7 separate regions of the Homo sapiens genome follow, and regions 1, 2, 3, 5, 6 and 7 are each linked to region 4. Evidence: promoter capture Hi-C in 16 types of primary human blood cells and fetal thymus (Javierre and others, 2016). All regions are on one chromosome and are shown on one strand. The core of a region is centred on a gene start or on the middle of the fragment in contact, and the rest is flanking DNA. Distances in the headings are between cores, read along the strand shown.

What was found. Contacts are between HindIII fragments. The CHiCAGO score rates a contact against its expected background, and 5 or more counts as called.
Region 1: a contact is called between a fragment that was not itself captured here and the fragment with the promoter of MECR in region 4, in 13 of 17 cell types (total B cells, naive B cells, megakaryocytes and 10 more). The highest score is 17.8, in total B cells.
Region 2: a fragment that was not itself captured here is called in contact with the fragment with the promoter of MECR in region 4 in 2 of 17 cell types (naive CD4 T cells and fetal thymus); the score reaches 5.5 in naive CD4 T cells.
Region 3: a fragment that was not itself captured here is called in contact with the fragment with the promoter of MECR in region 4 in 2 of 17 cell types (total B cells and naive CD4 T cells); the score reaches 8.6 in total B cells.
Region 5: a contact is called between a fragment that was not itself captured here and the fragment with the promoter of MECR in region 4, in 1 of 17 cell types (naive B cells). The highest score is 6.5, in naive B cells.
Region 6: a contact is called between a fragment that was not itself captured here and the fragment with the promoter of MECR in region 4, in 2 of 17 cell types (total B cells and naive B cells). The highest score is 9.9, in total B cells.
Region 7: a contact is called between a fragment that was not itself captured here and the fragment with the promoter of MECR in region 4, in 6 of 17 cell types (endothelial precursors, naive CD8 T cells, total B cells and 3 more). The highest score is 7.8, in endothelial precursors.

Annotation. Positions count from the first base shown.
Region 1 is chr1:30,692,286-30,695,292 of GRCh38, forward strand. No RefSeq gene overlaps it. Among named protein-coding and RNA genes, the nearest start is that of MATN1-AS1, 25 kb to the right of the region's middle. The HindIII fragment of the contact is 178 bases long and covers 1,409-1,586 here.
Region 2 is chr1:30,743,093-30,745,865 of GRCh38, forward strand. The region is part of intron 1 of LAPTM5 (lysosomal protein transmembrane 5); the gene reads right to left. LOC105378620 (a long non-coding RNA gene) reads right to left here. Exons shown (of 2, transcript XR_007065566.1): 2 at 698-2,773. Among named protein-coding and RNA genes, the nearest start is that of MIR4420, 5.2 kb to the left of the region's middle. RefSeq lists enhancers at 837-966, 2,408-2,467, 2,478-2,667. The HindIII fragment of the contact is 521 bases long and covers 1,023-1,543 here.
Region 3 is chr1:30,670,697-30,673,432 of GRCh38, forward strand. No RefSeq gene overlaps it. Among named protein-coding and RNA genes, the nearest start is that of MATN1-AS1, 47 kb to the right of the region's middle. The HindIII fragment of the contact is 9,811 bases long and covers 1-2,736 here.
Region 4 is chr1:29,229,588-29,232,287 of GRCh38, forward strand. MECR (mitochondrial trans-2-enoyl-CoA reductase) reads right to left here and starts at 1,347. Exons shown (of 10, transcript NM_016011.5): 1 at 1,144-1,347. The coding sequence starts at 1,319. RefSeq lists enhancers at 723-1,223, 1,224-1,724, 1,249-1,358. The HindIII fragment of the contact is 2,647 bases long and covers 1-1,736 here.
Region 5 is chr1:30,930,062-30,932,761 of GRCh38, forward strand. It overlaps PUM1 (pumilio RNA binding family member 1), which reads right to left. Exons shown (of 22, transcript NM_001020658.2): 22 at 1,445-2,700. Among named protein-coding and RNA genes, the nearest start is that of SNORD103A, 4.4 kb to the right of the region's middle. The HindIII fragment of the contact is 2,423 bases long and covers 127-2,549 here.
Region 6 is chr1:30,800,332-30,803,068 of GRCh38, forward strand. No RefSeq gene overlaps it. Among named protein-coding and RNA genes, the nearest start is that of LINC01778, 23 kb to the right of the region's middle. RefSeq lists an enhancer at 1,451-1,745. The HindIII fragment of the contact is 1,338 bases long and covers 760-2,097 here.
Region 7 is chr1:30,762,169-30,765,157 of GRCh38, forward strand. No RefSeq gene overlaps it. Among named protein-coding and RNA genes, the nearest start is that of LAPTM5, 5.9 kb to the left of the region's middle. The HindIII fragment of the contact is 4,408 bases long and covers 1-2,989 here.

The DNA.
Region 1 (3,007 bases), core at 248-2,747, 1.5 Mb after region 4:
AGGGAGGAGGGGAGGCTGAGACTAGCGGAGCTCACACCTTGCCAGCGCCATCATTGTGCCTGAGCCCTCGCACAAGCCTGGGGGATGTGGACTACCACCCCTCTGACAGGAGGACACTGAGGTCTGAGTGGTGAGGAAACTGGTCCAGCCCCCGCAGCCAGGGAGGGCAGAGCTATTCAGTCACCACGGGGACAGAGAAGCCATCACTGCCCTCCAGGCCCCCAGTCCAGTGAGGAACAGATGATGGCAGCACCGTGGGATCTGATGAGGGAGACACAGAGGGTGTGGGAGCTACAGGGTCCCCTAGCCCATCCTGGGGGATCAGGGAGCTCCCCAAGGAGGTGCTGCCTACACTGGGACCTGGAAGATAGCAGGGGTTAATTCTACCTGGAGGAGGAGAATGGGAGGAGGATGTGGAAGGGAGAGGAGGAAGAGGAAGAAGAGAAGAAGAGAGGGAGGAGGAGGGAGAGGAGGAAGAGGAAGCAAGGAGGAAGAGGGGAGGAGGAAGAAGAGAGGAGGAAGAAAAAGAGGAAGAGAAGAGAGGAAGGAGAAAGAGAAAGAAGAGGAGGAGAAAAGAAGGAGGAAGAAGAGAAGAGTAAGGAAGAGGAAGAGGAGGAGACAAGGAGGAGGAAGTGGGGAGAAAGAGAAAAAAGGTGGGGGAGAACAGGATGCAGTGGAGAGAACAACAAGTTTCCTTGGTGGTATCAATGGAGGTTTGCTCAATGAATGCATCTGCCAGTCGACTCCCACCCCGGCCTCCGCTCCTCCCAGCCCCCTGCCCAGGTGCCCTTCCTAGCCCGTTTGTGAGTTCAGTGTCGTCTCCACAGCCTGCCTCTTCAGGGGTGACTTGGGCTTCCCCAGAATGCCATCATATCTCTCTCCCCACTGTCTGCTTGGAATGTTGGCTCCTCCAGTGAGATGTGCATTCCCGGGGCCCAGGAACAGCCCTCATGGGACCCACCTCCAAGTGAGCAGCCTGTGCTTCACAGGAAAAGACCCAACGTTGAGCTGAACTAACTGTGGACCTAGCCCAGGCTTGGATCAGTGGCAAGTCCTACCACCAATGTCTGCAGTCTCAGCTCCCCCTGATGTACAAGTCCCCTTGTCCCTCCTGTATGGGGTCAGGGGAAAAGCAGGGACTTTGGGGTCAACCAGACCTGGGTTCAAATTCCCCTCCTGCCACTTAACGAGCTGAGTGGCCTGGGACAAGTCAGTCATCCTCAGGAACTCAGACTCCCCTCCGGGACAGTGGGAGTGGCCATGTCCATGTCAGGGGACAGCACATGGGTTGATGGGGCAGCCCTGGCGCACAGTAGGTGCTCAGTAAACCTCAGCACCCACCAGTCCTGACAAAGCCCATCAAATGCTATAACTTGCATACAATGCAGACAGAACCAAGAATCAAAGAAGCTTCTGCATGAACCCTTGATCAGAGCAGCCTCCAGTCCCCAGCCCCACTCATCAGAGGCTCCAGCCAGGCCTGGAGCCCACCTCAGACCTACTTCTCCTAACATAATTTGTATGTTTTTTGTGAGGGTTATTCCACCCACTACATAGAATAAATCTTTCAGGATGTTTAAATTCCAAGCTTTCTTGTAATTCCCCCAATATGTGAAGAGAGATTGTTGTGTTTCAGCAAAGGTCACACATAAAACGTACCGTACTGGATGGGAAAGGAGGCGAGGGCTGGATTAAGGAGCAATTGCCATCATTCATTAGGGGAAATCACAACACCTCCTTTCAAGGAGCACTTGCTCTGCCAGGGCTGCGAAGCCCAGATGACTGCACTCTCCTCCCCGCCACCTCAGAAATACATAATTTAGGAGCTCTAAGCTGCACTGCTTCTTACAGCAAGGGTGTGAGGCATGTTTCCTGAGTGCTGCTTCCTCAGGCCCATGAGAGCCCTGCAGGGCAGGAGGATCATTACCCACCCCCCACCCACCCCCGCCCCGCAATGATGGAGACAGGTAGAGTGAGAGGTGCAGGGACTCGCCCACGACCACACACAGCAGGAAGGGGTGGGCTGGGCTTTGAACCCAGGTGTCTCTGGCTCTAAGGCCCCTTCTCCTTGTCCCCCACTCTCCTGCTCCCTGAGAACACAGTAGGATTACAGCAGGAAAGGTGAGCAGAGAAATTAGCCCAATCCAGGCAGATACTCCCCCAGGCTTTGGATTCAACCCGCTCCTCTGCTCATTTGCATGTATTTACATGCCAAGGCTCCAGAGGCCTCAAGTATAGGCAATAAAATCAATTAATTATTGCAGCCGACCAGTGGGCACTTAGCTGCAGGATGCCCTCAGATCACTGTAACACACAGAATGGATTTTGGACAAGATCTGTGTCATTGCCTCTTGGGTCAACAGAGCCAGCCCTGAACCGGGCCCAGTCTCTACCACCAGCCTTTCTTGGTCAGAAGTGAGATGCTCAAGGAAAAAGGATGACTTAATTTTCTGGAATAAAGAGTCTCTGCTATTTTGTGTTCTTACACCATAATACCCCTCTATAAAACCAGGGCCTCTGCTCTCTGCAAATGCAGCCAAGGCAGAGCCTTCTCCTACCCAGAGCCACCTGGATGCTCAGATAAGTCCTACCCCAAGCCCGGGGTGAAAGGACACCCCAGGCAGAGTGAGGGAAGGTGATATAGCCCAGGTCACACAGACACGACTGAGTGGTGGCAGGCTTCCCTCTGATGAGCAGCTCCGGTCACCTCCGGGGTCCACCCATTAGTGCCCAGTCCCTGAGAGACCTGGGAGGAGGGGGTGGTGGGGCAGAGATCTGGGGCTCCTGGACCATGAGACCCAAATGCTATAATGCCCTAGATCCTACAATTCCAGTACCTTTAAGTGACATGGGAGGAATCACATGTTTTCTACCAGCCATGTTCAGAGCCCTTTCTGGGGCCTGGTCTGTCTGCCCACAGGCTGGAAAAAGGCTGAACAGTGGGGTTGATCATGCCCAGATGTGTGTGTGAATTAATGCATTGACAAATGCAGGAACAAATGAACTG
Region 2 (2,773 bases), core at 33-2,532, 1.5 Mb after region 4:
AATCTCTGTCTCCCATGGCCCCTCAGGGAACAATAACATCTTCCTCATAGGATTGTGGTGGGGCCAGATGGGATAATTCACTTAAAGTACCTGGCAGATAGTAAGCACTCAATCTGTGCTGTTATCCATTATCCCCATTCGACTGTAGGTTCCAGGCAGGGAAAGCCTGTATGTCTCTTTGTTCATTCCCCTAGCTGTTGTATTTGTTGAATGAATGAATGAATGAATGAATGAACAAATGAACCCCACACTCTCAGATGACCCTTGCTAAGAATGATGTGGAAGGGGCGAATCTGATAGGCCTGAGTGTTGGGGTGGCCCTAGAAACAACTGAAGTTCAGCCACAAAACTGCAGTTTTAAAGAACCTTGGAGGTCACCTTATCCATGCCTCCCATAAACCTGTGCCATGCAGCCTCTACTTAAGTGCTTCCAGCCATGGGGAACTCACAACCTTATGTGTGTCCATGTCCTCACAGCAAGCCCTCCACCCTTCCCCTATGACATACATACAGTTCTCCAGGTAACCTCTGCCCATATAAAGAACAAGAAAACTGTCCCCTCCCCTCTAGTCGGTGCCCTATCTCTATTAATATGGCCCTAAGTTTACATCGGCTTTCTAGGCAGCCCTGCACTGGTAACTCATGCTCAGCTGACAGGCAACCAGCCACCCACCATCTGTTTCCCCCTTGCTGACTGTGTGGGTTTTTTTTTTTTTTTTTTTTTTAGCTCAGACACAGGTCTCAACTTGTCTTCCTGCCACATTACATCCTGTTTAGGGGCGTGGAAAGGGACTGAACGGAAGAGTGATGAAGAGCTGGGCTCCAGAATCAGATCAAGAGGATTTTGAATCCAGGTCACTGTGTGACCTTGGGCAAGTCTCTTAACCTCTCTGAGTTTCCTCATCTGGAAAATTGCAATCACTGGATTTAGTGAAGATTAAATTGCATTATATTTGCAAAGCACTGAGCTCAGGGACTGGCAGGGGGTGCCCAGCAAACAGAATCTGCTTTTGGCTGGGGCAAGCTTACGTGGTTCGGCAGTAGTACCAGGAGCACGGTGCATGCTCTAACTGCCCCCTCTACCTGCTAAAGAGTGAGCTGGAAAGGCTTTGTCTCATCAGGAAAGTTGAGAACACCCCAAAAAGAAGGCAGGTGTGGTGAGGGCTGTGGCTGACACTCACAGGAAACAGCCCTGAGAGAAAAAAACTCCTTCCTCAGCCCCTAAAGGCCAGGCCGCAGCCCCTCTCCTCTCAGTTTCACCTTGAACGAGAGAAAGAGAAAGGGAGGCAGATGACAGCTCCGTCCAGCACAGAACGGGGTGTCCTGTGAAGTGGTGAGCTCCCTGTTCCTGGGAGTATGTAAGCAGATCACAGATGAGTCACAGCTGGGCTTAGAGAAGGACCATGAGCATCTGCCAGCTGTGAAATGAGAAGACTTTCAAAGTCTCAAGATTCCAGGATTATCTGAGATCTGGAACAAAGCCTAGAATCAGATCATCTCAACCTCCCCTTGCTAGAAGGAGCCTGCATGTACTTGTTTTATAAGCTTCCTCTGCTTGTTTTATAAACTCAGAGAGATTAGGTGGCTTGCCCAAGGACACACAGCAAGTTGAGGGAGGAGCCCAAGTCTCCCAGTGCTGTTCTGATGCCTTCCCATTCCCCTGACCCCCAAAATGCCTCAGAGCCCTGCTAGCCTGAACCCCGGAGAGGACTTAGATATTTTGATCATGCATCTATGTCAGTAAAACCTTTTGCACACACGCCTCTATTTTTCTTTCTTTCTAAATTACACGCATGTGTTGCTGTCCTAGTTTATCATGAACATCATAAAACAGCTACTAAAAAATTTCCAGAAATTAAAAAATTATATGATGGAAAAATTTAGAAATTTTAATATTGTCCTCCTGAGGCCATGAGGTCACCTTGGACATTACCCGACTTTAGAGACCTCTACTAATCCTCAACTCCCCCTACAACTCCTCTGTTCTCCTCCAAGCATCCCTTACTGCCCTGTAACCCCTCCAATCACCCCAGGGGAAGAAGGGGACATTTGTACAGCCTAACTCCATGCCACATGATCTTCCCCACTACCCAGAAAAGGGACTATTCTTAATACTTTCCTTCCCATTTCACAGACGAAGAAAGTGCAGCTCAGAGAGGTCCAGGGCCTTGCCCAAGGCCTCCCAGCTGGTCATATGCAGGGCTAGGGTTCAAATCTTGGCCAATTCCCTCCGCTGCCCGGCATCTTCCAGCCACCCGGGCTCTGCCTAAGGCCTAACCCTTCCCCTCAGTGCCTCAGTGGAGGCAGAGAGGCGCCCCCATCCCCTCTCCCTCTGCAGTCCCCCCTCCCTCCCCTCAGCCCCAGCACCAGGCACCAGAGGTATTTCTACTTTTGTGAAAACCACCTGCATTTAAAACCCAGGCTCACCCTCCCCCATTTCACCTTTTCTCAACAACCCTGCGGCAGGGGACGAGGGAGGACTTTGTCCCCATTGCCGGATGGCTCACGAGACTCATAGAGGGCAGGGGACCAGCCCACAGTCACAGAGCGAGGCAACCTCAGAGCCTGACTTAGACTCTGAGGGGCCCCGACCTTCCACGAAGATGCCAGGCCCTGACCCAGGAGAAAGGGAGGAAGCTCGGCTCTCCAGGCACCCATGTGGCTCTCTAGGACATAGGATGGAGAGGAACTCACATTTATTCAGCACCTACTGTGTGCTCAGACCTGCACGCACAGGCTTGCACTGCAATCTCCCAAAACTTTACAAGACAGG
Region 3 (2,736 bases), core at 132-2,631, 1.4 Mb after region 4:
GAAAGGGATGCTGAGGTATCCAGGGGCTGTGGCTGCAGGTGGCCACACAGTGTTTCCTGCAACTGGTATGGCATAGAAGAAGCCCAATGAGGCTGACTCGAAGCAGGCCTGCAGGCAGATCAAGCCCAGCTCCCTGCATGACTCCGTGGCCGAGGGGAGGGCAGGGGATGCTTCTACAGATGCCAAGATGGTGAATGGGCCCTGGAGTGAGACACACCCTGGGATAGGATCCAGATGTGTCAGGATCATGAGAAAAGACAACAAGCCACATCTCATGGACTTCTGAACTGAAATTTGTAGCTGCTACATGGGGGGCTCTTCCATCCCCTCCAGGACTCAGCCCCAGCACGGGGGGGAAGGAACAATGCTTTTCACATGCTTTCCACATGCTTTCTCCAAAAAGTGGAAGAGAGTAGACCACACCGGGCTCAGGGGTTTTAACCAAAGCTGATGCCCTCAAGCACCACGGTAGTTAAGTTTATGTATCACCTTGGCTGGGCCATGGTGCCCAGATATTTGGTCAAACATTGTTCTGGGTGTTTCTGAGGGCACTTTTTAGATGAGACTAACATTTACATTGGTGGACTTCTGGTAAAGCAGATTGCCCTCCATAATGTGGGTGGGCCTCATCCCATCAGTCGGAAGCCCGAGTAGAATAAAGAATGACTTGCTCCCCTGAGCAAGAAAGAATTCTGCTAGCGGACCCAGATAGCAACTCTTCCCTGAGTTTCCAGCCTGGCGGCCCACCCATTAGAGTTTGGACTTGCCAAGCCTCCACAGTTGTGTGATCCAGTCCTTAAAATAAATCTCTCTTGGGCCGGGCGCAGTGGCTCACGCCTGTAATCCCAGCACTTTGGGAGGCCGAGGCAGGCAGATCACGAGATCAGGAGATCGAGACCATCCTGACTAACACGGTGAAACCCTATCTCTACTAAAGATAACAAAAAATAGCCGGGCGTGGTGGCAGGCGCCTATAGTCCCAGCTGAGGCAGGAGAATGGCGTGAACCCGGGAGGCGGAGCTTGCAGTGAGCCGAGATTGCACCACTGCACTCCAGCCTCGGCAACAGAGCAAGACGCTGTCTCAAAAAGAAATAAAATAAAATAAATCTCTCTCTGTCTCTCTATACACACACACACACACACACACACACACACACACACACACGGTATTTATGTACTATGGATACTACAGCATCTATAATACTATGTAGACATGTATATAGATACATATACATAGTATCTACATATGTGTGTATGTGTATATACACATGCATACACATATATGTATATATTGGTTCTATTTCTCTGGAGAGCCCTGATGAAAACAAGCACTGAGTTATATTTTATCTCTAATACTATGAACCATTGATGTTTCATTTCATAAGATATTCATATTTGTCTTAATATAGAAATATGCTCAGTATCCTGTCAGTTAAGTTACTCAGCATGTCCCTCACCAGTTCCCCAATTGAGTACAAGGCTGTTTGGTAGGAGATGCTCTTGGCGATTACCCCACCTGGCCCCGCTAAGCCTGCCCTCACCAAGGTCTCTCGCAGTCTCCTCCTGTGTCTCAGTCCACTCTTCCTCAGTCTTCTCAGCAGGACTTTCTTTCTCTGCCTATTCCTTAGGATTTAGGTTTCTCAATATTTTATCCCTCTGCATTTAGTCCATTTGTCAGGCATTAAGGCCCATCATGATTCGGCCCTGATGTACTTCTCCAGCCTCGCTTCTAAGCAATCCCCTGAGCACGTGTCCTTAGCCAAATGCACTCACAGTCAGATAACCACAAACCCTTTCTGAGCACCTGCTATAAGACAAGTCTCGACCCATTTGCCCTTTCCAGAAGATGCTGTGTAGTTTCCTGCCCCCATGCCTCATTTTCACCCTGCTATTCCCTTTCCAGGCTTCGCTTTCTCCCCACTCCTTTCTTTACTTGGAAAACTCCCATCCATCCTTCAAAGCCCAGCTCAGATGTCCCACCTGAACTTCTGTTCTTGGCAGTGTGGTCAACCAGATACCCTAAACAACTCTCCCCATGCAAACAACCTCAATGCTGGATAAAGTTCTTTTTAATCCTTTTAAAGGCATCAATGAACTGGCACAAAATTATGAAATCCAAAGAGGCCAAAAACAAAGAGACAGAAGGATTCCTAGGCAGTGAGAAGCACCCAAACTAGCATTTTTCCCCAAAGTTTCACAAAACCCTGGAGACATTCATAGGAGATAAAGCCCAGAGCCAACCACGGTGATAGGCCTAATAGAAGAGTCCAGCATAAAATGAGAACCCCAAAGGACTATACCCTTTGTGAATGGCTGAATAATAAATAAACATGCTGTAAAGAGAGGAGCAACAAGAAAACATGTCTGTCCCAAACTCAGCGCCAGGTGAACAGAGGAAATACTGTGAAAACAAATTGTAACTATTTCTTATGGATTTGGAGTCAAATTTATGATATACATGACCAAAACTTCAAATAGAACATTTAATAAAAAGTGATTCTGGACTGGGTGTGGTGGCTCATGCCTGTAATCCCGGCACTTTGGGAGGCCAAGACAGGAGGATCACAAAGTCAGGAGATCGAGACCATCTTGGCCAACATGGTGAAACCCCACCTCTACTAAAAATACAAAAATTAGCTGGGTGTGGTGGTACTTGCCTGTAATCCCAGCTACTCAGGAGGCTGAGGCAGGAGAATGGCTTGAACCCAGGAGGCAGTGAGCCGAGCTCACATCAC
Region 4 (2,700 bases), core at 97-2,596:
GTTAAAAAGAAGGTACTGCACAAGAGTATGCAGGTGTTTTTTGGTGGAGAGCACTACATAGATCTTAGGTGATTACCACTATGAACTTTGTCTGTACTGTCTCCATTTTTTAAGATGATGAAACCGAGGCTCAGAGAACCTCAGTAACTTGCCAAATGCAAAGCTAGGACAAGGATTTGACCCCAAGTATTTTGATTCCCAGACCTGTGCTTTTGCTTTAGCTCCACTTCAGTGGCCCCAATAGCCCTTCTGAATGGCTATTTATGTGCAGATTTACAATGGTTGGCAACTGACATACTATTTTTATCAACCACGTGCAAAAAGCATGAATTAAGATCCAACAGAATTTTAGGAGGAGGACAAAGTCATAAAAGTAACGAGAAGTTGAATGACTTCTCTAAGACCAAACAGCTACTAAGACGTTGAGCCTGTATTTGACCAAATATAGATACTTGGGTCTGTATGGCACCAAAGCAGCTCTTTTTAACCAAGCCAAGATGCATATACGGTGCAGTGGAGAGAAACATGAGTTTGGAATCAGAAGCCATGGATTCCAGTCTCCTGTTCCAATCACTTATTAGCGGTATCACTCTGGGCAAGTCCCTTGCCCTCTGGAAACAATGATCTATGACCTACTCTTTACTGACACATGAAGATCCAAATGGATGTAAAAGTATTCTGAAAACTTCTTCCAAATAATAATAATAATAGTAAGAACTCACGCAGGTCAGTCAGACATAGGTTGGAATTCTGACCCTGTCACTTACTGGCTGTGTGACCTTGGACGAGTGATTTTACCTCTTCTGCCTCAGTTTTCATCTGCAAAATGGGGATAAATCAATAACTACCCCAAAACATTGTTGTGACAATTAAATGAGAGCATCCATTTAAACAAGGGATTGCCTGACACAATATTCGATCAATAAACATCAGCCATTAATACCCTGATAATTGCCTCTCGGGTCTTCAGCTACCTTCAAGTACGGTCTTTCTGACCTACCAAAAACGCCCTGGGCTTCGGCTTCGGTTTGCTATTCTCTGCCCCCTTCCTCGGACCCTGTCCCTCTCTTCCCAGTCCGCAGCTCGTGTTAAAGCCTTCCAGAAACCCCAGTCCCCTTCCCCGGCTTCGGCGCCGTCTCTTACTCGACGACCTTGGCTGGATCCCCGTGGTGCCCATAGACAAGCGCCCGGACCCGGGCAGGCTCGGCGGATGCGGAGTAGGAGGAGGCGGCAGGTCCGTGACAGCCAGAAGCTGGGAGCAGCCCCCGCCACTGCCGGGCGGGGGTTCGCACCCGCCACAGGGTACTGCAGACCCACATGCTCGCTCCAACCAACACAGAGCCTGACGCCCCGGCTACGTCATCTTCCAGCGACCGCGCGCCTGCGCCCCGCCCCTGCCCCGCCGGGTGACCACTCCCCCTTGGTCCCTTTGAAGGGCGTTTCCTTCCTTCGCTGCCCAAGTGGTGGCGCCTGGCTAGACTGCGTGTGGGCCCCGGAGGGATCCGGGGGTGCGGAGCTTGCGAGGCCGCCAAAGCTGTTGTCTCAACAAGGAGAGTCTGGGGCTAGTCCAAAGTCGTGTCTACAGCCTGCAGTTTGGTGTTTGATTTGGAGGAAATATTTACTCTCCCTGGCCTCAGTTTACCCTTCACATAATATATTGAGTGCTCACCGAGCCAGGCTCTTTAAGGTATTATCTCATTTAATCACCACTACCATGTAACGGCATAGGGAGGCAAAGCTTACTTCCCTACACTGAGGAGAGTACACGAAAGCTGCTGTGGAGGCAGGAGTATGGGGCTTGGAGTTAGAAAACTTAGGTTCAAATCCTAGCCCTGCCACTTCCTAGCTTGGCCACCTTGGGCAGGTGAAACTCTGAATTTTTCTCATCGGTACAATGGGGATAATATGCCTCCTTCCGGATTGTTGTGAGGATTGGATGAAATAATAGAGGAATGCTATTGTGGGTGGGAGAACGCATTGTAAAAAACTCTGTTCAGATGTAAGACAGGAATCACAAGGAGAAGGGTCCTCTCTCAAAATGCTCACAGTGTAGAAAGGGATTAAGTGGAACACTGGAAATGCCTGTAAAAAGGTGTAGCCCTATGAAGGATCTAGTCTGATTTTTGGTGTAGGGAAGACATGAACATTACTAAAACCCCAGATCGAGCTGTGGCTCGTGCCAGAGTGCAATGCTGTAGTCTGAAGAGAAGTGCTCTGGGATGGGGTGGGATGGGGTGGGGGCTCTTGGAGGAGGTGCTGTTAGAGCCAGCCCTGTGATTCAAAATCTTCTGTGTGCATAAAAATAATCCGAGGTCCCATCTTAGACCTACTGAATTAGAATCTTGCGGATGGGGGTTCCAGGAATCTACATCCTTACAAGCTCCCAAGAATATTCTGATGCAGGTGTCCCAGGAAACAGGTTTTAAGATACTGAGCCAGGGCTTTGAAGGATAAGGAAGAGTTCCTTTCCTGGATTTTATTGACTTGAAGCTTGCCATCTCCAAGCCTTTCCTCTGAGGAAGAGAGCACAGCAAAGTACTGTGAGCTAGATTTGGACAAACCTGGCTTTATGTCCTAGCTCTGCCATTTTCCAGCCATTTGATTTCGGACAAGTCACCAGGCCTCTCTGTGTCTTCACTTTCTTACTCTTAAAATGGAAGGAATACTAGTTATCTGTTTCAAGATTGTTGTGAGGGTCAA
Region 5 (2,700 bases), core at 88-2,587, 1.7 Mb after region 4:
GGTAGCAGAGTAATGGTGGTCAGAAGAGGGGGTGGCCCAGAGCCCAGGCCACTCCATGAAACCCAATCCTGCAGATGGAGGGGTCTGCCCCCATGCCCACCCCCTCGCATGATGAACTAAGGGGAAAGCTTTATTGATCAGAGTTGGTCTATCAAAAGACTTGCATCAGATCCTAGGACCTATTTCCACATCTATGAGATAGGGACAGCCGCATTCTTCACAGGGCTGTTGGTTCCCAGAACAGTTGTTGAGAACATGTGAAAACCATCTCATGTGTGACTTGACGCAGAGTCGGTTCACAACAAATGACATTATTATGTAAACTAATGAACAAAGATAGTTTTGTTCATCAAAAACTGTGCAGGGAAACTGGTATCATTTATTACACCAGTGTGCTGGACACAATTTAATTGCCATAATTTCCCATGACATGACAAGAGAGCCACTTTACATAGATCTGTTACCTTTGGTCCACTTCCAGCAAGGAATTTGGTGAAAGATGAGGTGAACTAACTTGCCCAAGTGCACACAGAGTGGCGAGACCCACATGTGACCCCAGGTCAATCTGACTGGAATCATGCTATCAGAGCAGCATGGACTGCAGTTCCCAATGCCCGCAGCATGCCACCTCTGCAAGCGCCATGATGGCTACTGCAGTGGGGAATGCTGGGAAAGGGCCCCAACGACAGCTGCTGAGGCAAAATCACATGCTGGACTGGAAACCTGCATCCCCTCAGCTTCCTTTTCTTCTCCCCCTATTCCCAGGGCCTGTTAGTGATTAGCCCTTCCCCTTGAGGGGCCCATGTGAAGTTCCTTCAACCATCCTGACGCTCCACTTCCAGACACCAGCTGGTGTGGGCTTCCACCTGGCCTCTCTGGCTGGACCCAGCCTGTAACTGCCAACACTTACCAAATCTGCCCCTGGAGCAAAGTCGGTGAAGAAGGGCAGATGGCATCCTCAGGCTAGGGCCACGGGCACAATTGTGAGCTCCAGCCTCCTGTGTTACAAGCTAAAAGAGGCTCCCCAGTCTGAAGAGATGAGCATGCTCAGACATTGGACTGCTTGGCAGGCCTCAGTAGTGGGCACAGGTTGGCAGGGAGCAAATGGAGCAGCCCAAACAGAGGAAACGCGGAGGAGGAGAGGCCCAGACAGACGGTGCTGTAACCCAGACAGCTCATCTCAGGGGCCCAAGGAGAATATTCTGATGTGCAGAGTTGGAAATCTGGATTTGTATGTGCAGTATCTTGATTCTGAATGCACTGGGCAGGCTGAACCAAACATCTTTGGTTTAAATTGGGCTCAAAGAGCCATTAGTTTGGCACCTCTCCTCCCACCCTCACAAAACAACAAAACAAGCAGAAAGAAGCATGAGCAGGAAAGGGCTGTCCTGGGGAACTACACTGGGGGTGGGGTGGGGGGAGAGGTTAAAATAAAGCACAAACCCAGATTCCAAAGTTCTGTATTTTTCAAAATAAAGATCACACATTGTTTAGAGACAATCTACACAAGAGTTACAAAAAATAGTTGCCCAGGCATAAGCATACACAGGTTTGTTAATTATACACATATGGTTACAAGTGTGCTTGCAAAAAAGTTCATTGGAAATATACACAAGGCTCTGGAAATGTACACCGTGTAGTGTTACAATTCTATATTCAAACAAGGAAAATTGACAGTATGTTACATTCACTTACAAGTAGACAAAATGCAAAATACAGTTCATCTTCTGTACAAAAGGGAAGGGCGATTCACACTTTACAAGGTGAGAGGGGCTCTGATTGTAAGGAAAGCTCGGGCAAGGCTAGACTTTTGCACGTCCTTTTGACTGTCACAAAATCAAAACATTACTTTTTTAGGATTAAAAAAACACTAGTGAGAACTCAATCTTGAATAACATTTAGAAAGAATCTCGCTATACTTGAGACTAGATGACAAATAAAACCAAGCTATTTTTTTCTTTTTAAACATTAACTAGGCTGTATAAAGAACATTTATTCCTTCAAAAGAAAAAAATTTACTTCTGGTTGAAATTACAATTTACAATATACAACACTATATGCTACGACCATAAAAGGTGAGAATATACACTGAATGCACAGGGCTGGCTAATTCTCTTTTCTTACCAAAAAACGTGTTTATGTTGATTCAAACTTCTCCACATTTACATTACAGGTATACAAATGTACAATTGTACAATCAAAAGTATGTTCGACTACTAGGGTACATTATAGATACAGATTAGACATCAAAACAAGAAAATACTACAAATTTGTATATATGCAAAGTCTACACCAAGTATACACTATATATTTATAGAAGCAAGACCAAAAGCAGAGTTGGATTTTTTTTTCTCATGCTAAATAATCAGATTTTACCTTTCAATGTTAATAGAAAAAAATCCAGTAGGCAGTAAACAATCACACCCGCCCAGCCTCAAAAGACGTTCTGGGTGCTCGCATCTCCTCCTCACGAACAGCCTTCTTCAGCATAATATAGTCTCCAAAAAAGGCATTTTTTAGAATTTCATAAACTTAATGTCACAAACTGAAGCTTTAGCAACTCTGAAACCTTTTTCATTATATATATATATATATATATATATATTTTTTATAAACAGTGTTAAATGCCAGTTTGGGGTCATTTAACTACAATTCAAACTTCTCAGGTTTTTTTGTTTTTGTTTGTTTTTTACTAAAATG
Region 6 (2,737 bases), core at 179-2,678, 1.6 Mb after region 4:
CAGCAGCAGGAAGAGCCGCGGTGCAGGCTCCCTACTGGAATGAACTTGGTGTTCTCCAGGCATGGAAGGAGGGCCAGTGCAGCTGGAGCAGAGTGAGGAGGAAGGCCTAGGAGCAATAAAGTCAGACAGGGAGATGGGTCCCGACTACCAAGCACCAGAGCAGCCAGCTAAGAAATACTAATACCTTCCGCCCTTCACCCAGGGCCCACGGTGTGCCAGACGCGGCACTGGGCACTCTTCCTGCAGTGCCTCATTCGCCCTCTCCACGCATCTATGCTTCATTGGCCCCATTTGTCAGGTGAGGGCACAGAGGCCTAGAGAGAGGCAGGCACTTGCCTGAGGCCACCCTACTGGGAAAGATGGGTGCAGGCCTGGAACTCCCATCTGCACTCTAAGCCAGGCTAAGCCAGGCCCTCCTTGCCCACCATCAACCAGGAACAGACCGCAGTCTTACTGGCCTTGATGTGATCCATACTGGAAACAAAGGGTCACTTCCTAGCCAAGGCAGGCCTCCTCCTGGTCTTATGGCCCCATCCCTAGTAAACCCAGTCTCCCAGCTGATGGACATGGCATACCCAGCACACACACAGTGCCTATGTACACACACACACATGCACACACACATACACAGCCACCCTGCCAGGAGGATGATATAGAAAACAGTGCTCTCCACAGAGGATGAGCTTCCAGGCATCAGGTCACTGTGGTCTTCCCAAGCTCCTCATCTCATCGAGGGCACAACCCATCATCTAGGCCAGAAGCTTGAGCACTGTCCTCAACTTGCTTCTCTCTTACCCTCCCCATTTCTCATCGCCTATGAAGCCTGCCCATTCTGAGCCCATCCGGGCTTTGGCACCCATGGCTATCTTCTGTTGGGGCTCTAAAGGTAAGGGTCTTTCCTGCTTTCATGTCCTCTCACCTGCCACCACCTTTGCTGGAGAACCAAGGGCCAGGCGATAGTGGCAGCCGCTGGGGACTTAGGAGTGGAGAAAGGAAGAGCTTTAAAGGAAGATCAGAGCAGTAGGGGGGTGATGTCACCAGCCCAGGACACCTACTGATTGATGCCAACATCACCCTTCAAGACACACACACACAAACACACACACACACACACACACACACACACACACACACACACTCATCTTGAGCTCCTGTTTCATGGCTATCAGGTTGCAATGCCGCTGCTCCAAGACAAAACAGGAAATCCCACGACTAAGCCAGCCAGATGGGGCAAGGGGCTGAGAATCTGAAACCCCCTCTGCTCTCTGCAGTCACCCTCCACCCCCCATCCCACCTCCTGCAGGCTGGAGCTCCGTGGCCAGAACCCTCCCTGGGCACCTCCCTACCCCAGGCACTGCCAGCCCAGCCTCTATTGGATTCAGGGGCCCGAATTCCTGCCCTGTGCAAGCTCCCTGCCCCACACAGGGCCTCATGTCTCCATCGGGAAGTCAGGGGTGGGTGATTTCTGAGGGTCTTTCCAGTTGAGATACTCCAGCTTTTATGGACATTTGCCTCCCAAAGACACGGGGGCTGGGAGTCCCCAAAGTAGAAGTTGCAGTCCGCGGAAAGGCCAGCAGAGGGCACCCGCGCTTCGTTTGCAGGAGGTCCGCGTCGAGCGACAGGCGACAGGGTTGGGAAGAACGCTGGAAACGCTGGGGCTTTGCTTGTACCCCTGACCCATTCCGATTTTCATAAAGCTCCGCATAGTTCCACGGGCAGGCCTCTGTGCCTTCGCACATGCAGCTCCCCTGCCAGCCTGCAAAACTCAACCAGGGATCTCAGCCCTAGGGAGGCCTCTCCTGACCCCTCTCCTCTGCTGCCTCTGGATCCACAGTGCCCGCTGCAGATCTGACTCCAGCAGGGACCAACCGCGGGTGGATGGAAGGATGGACGAAGAAAGCCAGCTACAAGCAGCTACGTGGTCGTTCTCTAGAAACAAATAATTTGACGTGGAAAACTGCTGGGGAGGAAAATCATTTTTAAAATGTAAAACACTCACTGAGGTCTAAGGGCTGGCACCATGATCTTACTTAATCCTAACCAAACGCCTTGTTGGGGTGGGTGGTATTACCCCCATTTTACAGAGAGGGAAACTGAAGCTTAAAGACAGCAAGTGGGCCTGGCACGGTGGCTCATGCCTGTAATCCCAGTACTTTGGGAGGCCAAGGCGAGAGGATCACTTGAGCTCAGGAGTTCGAGGCCAGCCTCAAACTAAAAATACAAAAAATAAGGCTGGGCGCAGTGGCTCACGCCCATAATCCCAGCACTTTGGGAGGCCGAGACGGGTGGATCACCTGAGATCAGGAGTTCAAGACCAGCCTAACCAACATGGTGAAACCCCCGTCTCTACTAAAATACAAAAATTAGCCAGGCGTGGTGGCAGGTGCCTGTAATCCCAGCTACTCAGGAGACTGAGGCAAGAGAATCGCTTGAACCCAGTAGGCAGAGATTGCAGTGAGCTGAGACTGTGCCATTGCACCCCAGCCTGGGCAACAAGAGAGAAACTCCATCTCAAAAAAATAACAATAATAAATATAAATAAATAAATAAAACAGCTGGGGGGCTGGGCACAGTGGCTCACACCTGTAATCCCAGCACTTTAGGAGGCCAAGGTGGAAGGATCACCAGAGGTCAGGGGTTTGAGACCAGCCTGACCAATGTGGTGAAACCCCATCTCTACCAAAAATACAAAATTAGCTGGGCATAGTGCCGCATGCCTGTAATCCCAGTTACTTGG
Region 7 (2,989 bases), core at 204-2,703, 1.5 Mb after region 4:
TCAGCCTGGAGGGTCAGCCTGGCAAGGACAGCCCACAGGCCTGTGGCCTGGGGACAACCAGACCTTCCAATGACCAGCTGCTGAGTCCAGTGGGCAGGCAGGGGACCCCAACGGTCTGCCAGACACTCCAAGGAGGCCTCCCCTCAGCCAGGCAGTCCAGGGGTCCCTGGCTGCACCCAGGGGCACAATGACACCATATCCTAGTCTGCTGCTGCCACAGGCACTGCAGGCTGAAGGCTCCAGGGAGATGGGACCAGCAGGCAGAAGGAGCACTGGCTGCAAAGTCTGCATAGCCGAGCCAGCAGCCTCCTGCTGAATAACAGCTCTGGGCACACCCCAGGACGGAGCATTTTAGATCATGGGTGCAGCCGTACTATCCATGGGGAGCTGGAAAACCCGGCTCCCTCCTGGCCCTGGTCTCCAACCAGCCTCTGCCTCACTCTGAGCTGTAGAGTGGGGATTGTCATAGCGCATCCAGTGTGCTGCTGCAAGGACTAGGTAATTCCCTCCTAAGCACCAGCCTCTGCCAGAGCCCCCTCCTCCCTGCTGCTGACCTCATCCTCAGGAAAAACCTCAGAGATCCAGGCACCTTAAGAAGTTGGTGGCAAAATAGCACAACTGCCATCAACACCACAGTAGGAGTTACCTCATTAGGTCATTCCCCCAGCTAGGGGATTTTTATTTTAAAAAATGAAACAACAACCACTAGCAAACAACAAAAGTGATAGGCCCCACTGAGGACCAAATCTGGGGCCAGGCTTTAGATACCTAAAAAAGAAGAAGAAGAAGAAGAAGCAAGGTAGAGAACTACTACACATGGTGTGCGATTTAGTCACTTCTAGGAAAGCTGCAACTTTCTTGATTTGAAAGGGACAGACTTCATAAGCACATGTCTTCTACCCATTGTCCTAACTCCCTTCGACCTTCTGTAAATGCAGGTGCAATGCCTGGAGGCACAGAAGCCATTTGGGGACCATGAGAACAAAAACGATACCCTAATGCAGAGCGGAAAGAGAGGAAGAGCCGGGATCCCTGATGCCATCATGAAGCCTCTGCACCAGCCCTGAACCTCCTTTCTCTGTACATCTTGTAATGTGAGGGAAAAAAACCTCCCCAGGCCTTCTGACTTCATCCCTTCAACAAGAGCCTTGTTTTGTGTGCTCAGGACATAGCAGTGAACAAGGCAGACAAGGTCCCTGGTCTCATGGAGCAAACATTCTAGTAGAGGAGGCGGTGAACAAGGACACACATGAACAAGAGCATCTCAGCAAGTGACAGCTCTCCATCACTTCCTCCTGCTGCCTTCCTAGCCTGGTTTCTGGTCTTGACTGGAGCACAGAATTGCTGTGGGGCTTTGGAATGGCCACTTCCCCACTCCAACTTCTGTTTTCCTGTCTATAACATCAAAGAGGTGTCCAAATCCATGCTCTCTGAGGCCTGGCCCCTCTCAGCCAGGCCCCGGCACCAGGCAGGTTACTCCAAGCAGCTGCACCCAGAGGCTGGACCCCCTCCAAAGCGACTGGGCTGTTGCTGCCCTCAAATTCCTCGGCACTGGGTAAACAGCTAGGCAGCTCCCGTCAGCCAGCCAGGCCTCCTGACCACCCCTCTCAGGGACATCCATAAATTTTCAGCCAGCTGCAGGCTGAAGAGCCCAACTGTGACTCAGGCTCTTCCTGCCAGTGCCCGGCACAGAGCAGCCCGAAGGGCCAGGCCATGAGGGGGCCACCCCTGCTGTTCTAGGGCCACCATCCCTACTCTGGGGACCCCAGCTGTGGCTAGTCCCTGCCCAGATCAGCCACTGAGTCTTAGTACCCCTGTATGGCGTGCACACACACACACACACACACACACACACGCACACACCGCACCCATCGTGCACTCCATACATCTCAAACTGACCCCTCTGGGTGTTGGCCCCTCCAGCCTCCCCACTGCCCAGCCAGAGACCACAGCACAGCCTCCTCTCTCTCCTCACCCTCACTTCCACCTCCTCCCAATCGCCAAGCCCTGTGGATTCTGCTTCCCTCCCACCTCCCAAATCTGTCTGCCTTCCTCCACCCCTACTGCCCAGATCCAACCCCCTACGCCACCCCACACCTGAGACTTTGCTGTGGCAAAAGGCAGGGAGCAGAAAGAGAGGCCTGACCTGAACCAACCAGGCTCCAGGGGCTGCTGCCTGGGCCAGCCACACTGCTTCACCCAGCAGGGAAGGGTTTCTTTGGCCAAGGGGCTTGGAGGGCTGGGATCTATCAGGCCTGGGGCTCCGGGCCACTGTCCAACAAGTGGCTAAAGAGCAGGAGGTCTAGACCACCAACAAATTCAGAATATATATACATATATAATTTTTTTTCTTTTTTCTGAGTCAGGGTCCTGCTGTGTCACCCAGGCTGAAGTGCAATGCTGCACACAGCTCACTGTAGCCTCGGGCTCCCAGGCTTAAGCAATCCTCCCACCTCAGCCTCCCAAGTAGCTGGAACCACAGGCATGCACCACCATGCCCGGCCAACTTTTTTATCTTTTGTAGAAATGGGGGCTCACTTTGTTGACCAGGCTGGTCTCGAACTCCTGGGATAAAAGGTTCTCCCACCTCAGCCTCCCGAGGTTCTGGGATTACAGGTGTGAGCCACCGCACCTGGCTATATATGTACCTGAACAATTAAAACCTTTTGACAAACGAGGAGATCAACTAGGGCATGCATCTGACTGAAAGGTCACACTCCCCACAGAACAGCTCTGCCTCGGCTCCTGGAGCCCACTACCTGTGCTTGCTTGTGAGGATGCCCCCATTAGGACGCGTGTGTGGAGACCGTGTGGCCCCGCACACACCGGCCTTGTCATCAAGGGAACTTGGGTCTGTTCTGGCATCCTCCAGGGGAACAGTGTGAATATACTAATCTGGCAGGCGACTGCATCATTCATTTCTCCAAGCAGCGTCAGGTATGTCTTGAATGCCTGCTATGTGCCAGGCACTGTATTAGGCCCTAGAGCA